3 separate regions of the Homo sapiens genome follow, and all the other regions are linked to region 1. Evidence: promoter capture Hi-C in human tissues and cell types (Jung and others, 2019). All regions are on one chromosome and are shown on one strand. The core of a region is centred on a gene start or on the middle of the fragment in contact, and the rest is flanking DNA. Distances in the headings are between cores, read along the strand shown. Region 1 holds the start of RABIF (RAB interacting factor). Region 2 has its middle 5.9 kb from the start of SYT2. Region 3 overlaps KDM5B (lysine demethylase 5B).

Region 1 (2,829 bases), core at 165-2,664:
GATGGCTCCTATGCTGTCTTCAGTGCTGACTAATGAGTTTCAGACCAACTTCACAAATAGTTCATACACTGAAGCCACAATGGTATGTTCTACAGAAAAATCAACACGTAAAACAGCTCCTTTTTCACTCTTCACAATCGTACACACTTTCATGTGCTCACATACATACACAGAGATACCCCTAATTTGGTGGTTCATCTTATTTTTTTAAGCTCCCATAACTGGCAACCAGCTACTTAGTTATCTAACCTGGGAAAACCAGCAGTTGCTTTGTGTCACCCCCATCACAATACAGACATCCAGCTAGTTTCTAAGTTCTGTACAATTTTAATTGTTTCAAGTCCATTCCCATATCTTTGTTCCCTCTGCTAGCTTCAGGGCCTTTCTGAGCTAGACTGATGAGGTAATAGCTACCTGATACCTTACCTCTACTCTTTTTCCTCTCTTCAATCTAGCCCCTCTATTTATTCATAGGTTATCTTTCTGAAGCACAGATAGGATCATTACAGTGCTTAACATACAGCAGACAGTAAATATCGAACAGTTATTTCTGGCCTAAAATTCCACAGATTCCCATTGTTCATGTTATTAATGTTAAATTCCTTAGCATGACATTAAAGCCATGGAGCTCTGGGCCCACTCTGCCTTACCTACCTCTACTACCACTTCTCCCCACGTGTAATGTGGGTCAGCCACAGTGGTCTACTAACCATTCCTAAATTTGTTCTCACCCTTGTTCATATATAATACTGTTCTGTCTGAAATAATCTTGCTTTCCTGACAATCCTAGTTAATTAAGAGCAGTGGCTTTAGAGTTGTGCTGCAACCTTTCTGATCTTTACCTTTCTCATTTTGTGCACAAGCGTGCCGACCCCGTAAGGAAACTGATGATTTAGTAAGTTTCTAAAGGCGCTTTGACACATTTTGCCGCATAGTAAATGGTCACAATGAGTAGAAGAGACCAGCAATTAAAGTTTCCACGCATCTTTTTCCAATACCGAAAAGATACATGCCCCTCTAAGTAGTTTCCTATAGAAGAAGCTAATGTGGCTAAAACTTGATGGGAAGTCCGACCCAGATTCCCTTCATATTGCCCCCAATAATGTCCCCATTTATTCAGGAGACTAAATTCAGATCCCAGAAAACTAAACAGTAAGGTCAACCTAATGATTTGTCTAGGTTTTAAGTGAAGCCCAGTGGCCAGGTGGGTATGGAGATGTGTCACTGGTGCCAAGAAGTGTCCCTGTCACAAAGCCTGCCGACACCTAGCCACTTAGGTTAGGCAATGAATGAAGGCGCTTGCGCAGTAGAGTCCAGAGCGGGGAAGCGGGCGCCTGCGCAGAGACATAGTGACCGTCCGCTCGCCGCCCCGCCTCTGCCAAGCCGCGCCAGCGCAGTGAATAACGAGCCAGCAGAGACAGCGTCTGCGCAGCCGTGGCTGAGGAGCCTGTGGCGGCAGCGGCGATGGAACCAGCGGAGCAGCCGAGCGAGTTAGTGTCAGCCGAGGGCCGAAACCGGAAGGCGGTGCTGTGCCAGCGTTGCGGCTCCCGGGTGCTGCAGCCAGGGACCGCTCTCTTCTCTCGCCGACAGGTAGGGAGGCAGGTTGGAGGCCGTTTACACCCACAGTCTCCCCCGACGAGCCGCCGCAGTCAGAATCTGAACCCCGGCTCTTCAATTTCCGGCAACCGCGCCCTCCTCGCGCGGCCTTAAGCCCCGCCCCTCGGGCCTCAGCTCGGCGAGGCTCCGCCCCTGGGGCCGCTGAAGGCTAGGGAGGGAACCGGGTCCCGCCCCGGCATCTTTTGCCGCGGGAACCCTTCCCTGGGCCACCCGGCCCAGCCAGCCCGGCCCTCTGCCCCCGGGGGGGCTTCGAGCGCGGGCCGTGCGCCCCGCCGCCGTCCAAGGCCGGTGCTCCGCGGGCGCGTGGAAGGGAGGCGCCCCATTCCGGCTCTCGGAGCTCCCGCCAGCTTGCAGGACCCGGCAGGTGCCTCTCGGCCGCCGCTCACCGCGGGTGTTGCTGGGTTCCTTTCCCACTTTAGACCTCACCCGCCAGTCCTGAATTCACCGTCTCATTTATGACGGGCACCTATCTGCTCCACAGAGGATCCCCAGGAACAACTGGTGTTGGGGACGCGGCAAAATAACCCTGGTAACCTACCCACTTTACCGAGGCACTGGAAGCCTGTGGTTTTCCAGATGAATCATATTTCAAGTGCAGTAGATCCCTGACGTCCTGGAAGTAAATTTCGAAGAAAAACTTTTTTTTTCCCTTCAGTTTAGGGATTTTAATACCCTTCCTACCACCATCATCGCAAGTGAGAAAGTTGAAAAAAAAATTTATTTCGGTAAACTGTGTTGAAGTGCAAATATAATGTCATTTCAACCATAGACACATCCTATCATTCAAAATTATTTCTAAAAATATGCAGATCATTTTATTATTTCACGTGCTTGAACAGATGGTGAAGTGTAATGTCTAGTAGAAGAGCAAGAGGTACCCATTCGTCCAAAACAGCCTTTCATCAAAGGAGGAAAAAAGGGAATCTGTGTCTGTTGTTTTGTAGGTATTTTGATGACTTTTGATCTAGAGATTGGTGGAGGTCCCGGGGTTCTTTTAAGACTTCAAGGTTTAGGAGTAGAGTTCTCAATTAATTTTACGAAGTTAGTGGCATTATGGAGTCAGTGGAAAGAACATGGATCTTGGAATTGAAACATACATGGAATTGAGTCCTGACTATCATTCATTAACATTAAAACAGTTAGGCTGGGCGCGGTGGCTCATGCCTGTAATCCCAGCACTTTGGGAGGCCGAGGCGGGCGGAACACCTGAGG
Region 2 (2,829 bases), core at 237-2,736, 170 kb after region 1:
GACCCAACAATGCCGGGCACAGTGGCTCACGCCTGTAATCCCAGTACTTTGGGAGGATGAGGCAGGTGGATCACCTGAGGTCAGGAGTTCGAGACCAGCATGACCAACATGGTGAAACCCTGTCTTTACTGAAAATACAAAAATTAGCCAGGCATGGTGGTGGGCGCCTGTAATCCCAGCTACTTGGGAGGCTGAGGCAGGAGAATTGCTTGAACCCAGGAGGAGGAGGTTGCAGTGAGCCAAGATCGCACTACTGCACTCCAGCCTAGGCAATAGAGCAAGACTCCATCTCAAAAATAAATAATTAAAAAGACCAATAAACATGTTTTGCTTGTAGGTCTTAGCATGTGTGCACATGTGCGTGCACACACGAACACACACACAGCTATCTTGAGTCTAGAAATGAGACCATGTGCAATCAATGTTCTGTGGCCAGGGGTTAGGGTGGTAGGAACAGGATCTAACAAAGGGTGTTCAATCCTCCTTTTTGAACTTTTCTCCAGCCAGGCCCTAGACAGTATGAGGAGGTAGGCAGCTATCCCATGGCTTCTAGACTCACTGGGCTTCCTTGGGAAAGTCACTCAACCTCTCTGGAGCAAACAATGTAGAGAATCATCATTAGGCTTGCTGGTCTTCTGGAGCCAGAAATAATAACAGTTACTGTAATACTCAATACGCACTGAGCACTGACTGAGCATCAGGTACTGTCCTAGATATCAGATAACCTAAGCTGACTCTCACCATGCTGCTATGAAATGAAGTCACTAACTCATGGCCTCTGAGAGGTGAGCCGAGATTGGAACTCAGGAAGTCTGTCTCCAGAATCCAAAGTGGTGAGCACGGCAGTATGTAGTATGCAGCCTCCTTTCAGAAGTCAGCAAAGGAAGGGAACTTACAGGCCCTCTAACCCAACTCCAGCTGTGAGTGGTTTTTCTAAAAGCATAAAATGGATTATGCTTAGATTCCTTCAATGGTTTCCATTACCTTCTGAAGAAAATCCAAACAGTTGGTCTACAGAATCTGTCATGAGCTTGCCTTTGCCTCTGATCTTTCCCTCCTCCCCAAACCTACCCTATACTCTAGCTCCACTGAGCTATTTACATTTCCCTAAGCCACATAATAGAAGCTACCTATTTTGTTAAGGCCCTGCTTGCTGTTTAGAACCATTATACTATTTAATTTTCACAACAATCCCTCAAAGTAGGTGGTGAAGTCTTCATTTAACAAATAAGGAAACTGAGGCGTTAGAGTAGTCACATAGCTTTCTGACTCCAGTGCTTAAGCTCTTCAATGAGTGCACTGTATACTTTTATCCACTACTGCTGTCTTTGCCTGGGATGCCATTCTCTTCATTGCCTACCTAGAAAACCAGTCTTTCCTCTGGTGGTAGCTGAAAGGTTATTTCATCAGGGAAGCCTGCCGTTATTTCTTGACTTCCTACCAGGTTGAGTTAGTGGCTCTCTCTCTGGTTCCCACAGCATCTTATACTTTTCTTTTGGTACATGTTTCTCACTCCCTGCATCAAGGAGGCTGTGAAATCCTTGAAGTATTTAAGTGTTCCCCTCCACGTTGCCCGCTCCCTGCAGGGCTCCTGACAGATAATACCCTGGGTGGTGGTATTATCTGCACTCTAGGCAATTGCTTTTTTCCGGGTGTTTTTGTTTGTTTGTTTGTTTGTTTTCTTTTTCTTTTTTGAGACCGAGTTTTGCTCTTGTCACCCAGGATGTGGTGCAATCTCGGCTCACTGCAATATCCACCTCCCAGATTCAAGAGATTCTCCTTCCTCGGCCTCTCAAGTAGCTGGGATTACAGGCGCTTGCCACCACGCCCAGCTAATTTTTGTATTTTTAGTAGAGACAGGGTTTCACCGTGTTGGTCAGGCTGGTCTTTAACTCCTTACCTCAGCTGGTCCTCCTACCTCGGCCTCTCAAAGTGCTGGGATTACAGGCGTGAGCCACCGCACCCGGCCGTGGTAAATGTTATTGACTGGATAGGTGATGGGTACGTGGACAAATACGAAGCTTAAGAGACTTGTTCCAGATTTGCTCCTGAGCTACAGAGAAGAGTGGCAGATGGACTTGGGATACTGAAGAAAGGACCGTATCAGTCCTAGAGCTTCTTTCCCACATGTCTCTGCTGTGGCTTCTTGTGCTTTGGTGCTTGCCTTCCACAGCTAGGGCACATCCCAAGGGCAGTTCTGAGATACAACTCCAATTTATGGAGAGTTTTAATGGACACACGGATATTAAAGCACCAGGGTTAATTATTCAGAAAATGTTTCAACTGACTTGCTTTTCATCTCCCCCATGATGGGTAGCTTCAAAGCCTACAGTTGCCTTCTGGTAAGAAGAGACATCCTGCCCTTGTGTGATTAGTAGTCTGAGCCATTTGCTCTTCACATTCCGGAAGGTGAGCACCTCAGAAGAACCTTCTCTTCTATGAGAGGGGGAAAACTGAGGCTCAGCGAAACTTACCTGGGACATAAAACTGTGACTGGTACTTCATTGCAGAAGGAAGAAGGGTCTGCTCTGGTGTTGTAGGTTGATATTTCCTTTGAGAAGGAAAAACAATCATTGTTACTATATGAAAAGACAAGGTCCTCATGACATTCTTTAGTTCCTGGGATCTGATAAAATTCTGTGATTATTATTTGCATCCTAGTGACTTTCTTCCACATGCCAGATATGGTCTTGAAAACTTTAAAAAGCTTCCCCTCTAGGAGTATAATGTTATAGATCCAGTAGTCCTCTGTCTGCCCCATTCTGTTGTATTTAAACATTTTATCTGAGCTCAGAGTTATTTGTTTTTATTTTGTTCATTGCATAGAGA
Region 3 (2,829 bases), core at 148-2,647, 140 kb after region 1:
TTATTTTTCCTGACAGTCTTTTAGGAGGAAATGTTTAATTATGACTTTAGTCTTTGCTATTGCACAAATTTTCTAACTATTCAGTTAATGATATCCTTTCATATAACTTCCTGTAAAAGGCTGAGAGACCACTCAGCATCTTCCCAAACTCAATTTCTGCACGATAGTCTTTTCCACTCGTCCCATCTTCTTTCCTTTTATTTTTGTCCTTTTAATAGATTCTCCATATTTCCTCAGAAGTAGGAAACATATTCCTTTCTTTTAATCTTATCTATACCTCTTATCTATACCCAAAATGTGGACAAGGCTAATTTGTAGTAGAACAGATAACTAATCTCAGTAGTTTTACAGTCCTATGGTGTTCATACTCAGATCAAAATGACCAAACATAAGGACCTGCCTTGTCTGAAAAAGGAGATCTCCCTAGACAAATGAACTTGCCTGTATTTGCTAGGTCATTTGTTTCTTTGTATGCCACACATTTTTAATCATGCATCCCTATTTTGGTAAAGCTTTTTTTTTTTTTTCAGACTCAAGTACTACTGCATGTTTGTCTTGGGCTGGTGGATTATATTATCCTTTGGAGGTCTCTCTAAAGTATACTTTATTCTAGGGAGTGATTGATTCGGAAAGAATGGATTTTGAGCTGTTGCCAGATGATGAACGTCAGTGTGTAAAATGCAAAACTACATGCTTCATGTCTGCCATCTCCTGTTCTTGTAAACCTGGCCTTCTTGTTTGCCTGCATCATGTAAAAGAATTGTGTTCCTGTCCTCCTTACAAATATAAATTGCGGTAAGTAGGAAGAACGATTTTTTTTCCTATGGAAAACAGTTGATCCTTACTAAAAGCTCAATGATACCGCAGTTCTAGGGCTGAAATGTTAAGTATAAAACATCTAGTTTTCTCCAAAGCTACACGTCTCAAAGCTAAGTGTGGTGGTATTATTTCCAGGTATAGGTACACGCTGGATGATCTCTACCCTATGATGAATGCATTGAAGCTTCGAGCAGAATCTTACAACGAATGGGCCTTGAATGTGAATGAAGCTTTGGAGGCAAAGATCAACAAGAAGAAAAGTATGTGATACAGAAAGTGACTTGGTGATTGGCAAATTGGGGCTTATTGTGATGTAGCCAAATTAAAGTCAACAAAACATTTCTTGAAACAGCCTGACCTCATCCTTGGTTAGCCCCTCTACATAGCCCGGTTTACAGAGCACCGGCAGAGAAGGTTTTAAAACCAAGAGTGGATAAGGCAGTTGCCCTTACATCCCAGTGAAATTTTGTTATATGAGTTGTGCAACATCACTTACTTAACAAAAACGATATTGTTAGGAAACCTTTATTTTTGTCTCAGAAATAAAAATTTCACATTTCTTACAAAGATGTTGAAATCTTTAAAAAAACAAAAACAAAAACAAAGCATCTTGTGACAAAGGCAGCATGACACTAAATCAGGAGTCTCTGAAATGGTAGTTTATCACTTCTTAGTTCTAATTAAAGTTAAGGTCCCTGGCACTTGTCATTACCTTTGAAAGTCACTGCTACCCTTTATATCTCTCTCTCTCTTTTTTCTTATGAAAATATAGTTTGTTTTTTGCTTTTTACTTTTCACCTCAGGGGTATATGTGCAAGCTTGTTACATAGATAAACTTGTGTCATGGGCGTTTGTTGTACAGATTATTTCATCATCCAGGTATTAAGCTTAGTACCCATTAGTTATTTTTCTGGAGCCTCTCCCTCCTCCTGCCCTCCACCCTCCAATAGGCTCCATTGTGTGTTGTTCCCCTGTATGTGTTCACGTGTTACTCCCCTGTATGCATCCATGTGTTTTCATCATTTAGCTCCCACTTAATAAGTGAGAATATGCAGTATTTGCTTTCCTGTTCCTAGTGTTAGTTTGCTAACTAATTGCCTCCAGTTCCATCCATGTTCCTGCAAAGGACACGAGCTCATTCTTTTTTATGGCTGCATAGTATTCCATGGTGTATATGTACCACATTTTTCTTTATCCAGTCTATCATTGATGGGTATTTAGGTTGATTCTATGTCTTTGCTATTGTGAATAGTGTTGCAGTGAACATACACATGCATGTGTCTTTATAAATGGAATGATGTATATTCCTTTGGGTATATACCCAGTAATGGCATTGCTCGGTCAAATGGTATTTCAGTCTTTAGATCTTTGAAGAATCACCACACTGTCTTCCACAATCGTTGAACTAATTTACACTTCTACCAACAGTGTATATGCGTTCCCTTTTCTCCACAACCTTGCCAGCATGTTACTTTTTGACTTTTTAATAATAGCCATTCTGACTGGTATGAGGTGATATCTCATTGTGGTGTTTTTTTTGTTTGTTTTTGTTTTTGTTTTGAGACGGAGTCTTGCTCTGTCACCCAGACTGGAGTGCAGTGGTGCGATCTCGGCTCACTGCAACCTCCACCTCCTGGGTTCAAGCAATTCTCCTGCCTCAGCCTCCTGTGTAGCTGGGACTACAGGCACGTGCCAACATGCCCAGCTAATTTTTGTATTTTTAGTAGAGACAGGATTTCACCATGTTAGTCAGGCTGGCCTTGAACTCCTGACCTTGTGATCTGCCTGCCTCGGCCTCCCAAAGTACTGGGATTACAGGCGTGAGCCACTGCGCCCGGCCTTTCATTGTAGTTTTGATTTGCATTTCTCTAATGATCAGTGATGTTGAGCTTTTTTTCATATGATTGTTGGCCATACGTATGTCTTCTTTTGAAAAGTATCTTTTCATATCCTTTGCCTACTTTTTAATGTTTTTTTCTTGTAAATTTGTTTTAAGTTCCTTATATATGC

Evidence for each region. The method cuts DNA at HindIII sites, captures the fragments that hold promoters and counts their contacts. A contact is called where the count stands out against the background at its distance.
Region 2: a fragment that was not itself captured here is called in contact with the fragment with the promoter of RABIF in region 1 in 1 of the 25 tissues and cell types used here (adrenal gland).
Region 3: a contact is called between a fragment that was not itself captured here and the fragment with the promoter of RABIF in region 1, in 3 of the 25 tissues and cell types used here (hippocampus, mesenchymal stem cells and small bowel).

What each region holds. Positions count from the first base shown.
Region 1 is chr1:202,887,734-202,890,562 of GRCh38, reverse strand. RABIF (RAB interacting factor) reads left to right here and starts at 1,414. Exons shown (of 2, transcript NM_002871.5): 1 at 1,414-1,590. The coding sequence starts at 1,465. RefSeq lists an enhancer at 1,379-1,648 and a silencer at 1,719-2,008. The HindIII fragment of the contact is 13,847 bases long and covers 1-2,829 here.
Region 2 is chr1:202,714,917-202,717,745 of GRCh38, reverse strand. No RefSeq gene overlaps it. Among named protein-coding and RNA genes, the nearest start is that of SYT2, 5.9 kb to the right of the region's middle. The HindIII fragment of the contact is 3,632 bases long and covers 1-2,829 here.
Region 3 is chr1:202,744,108-202,746,936 of GRCh38, reverse strand. KDM5B (lysine demethylase 5B) reads left to right here. Exons shown (of 27, transcript NM_006618.5): 15 at 614-795; 16 at 955-1,079. Among named protein-coding and RNA genes, the nearest start is that of SYT2, 35 kb to the right of the region's middle. The HindIII fragment of the contact is 4,315 bases long and covers 1-2,829 here.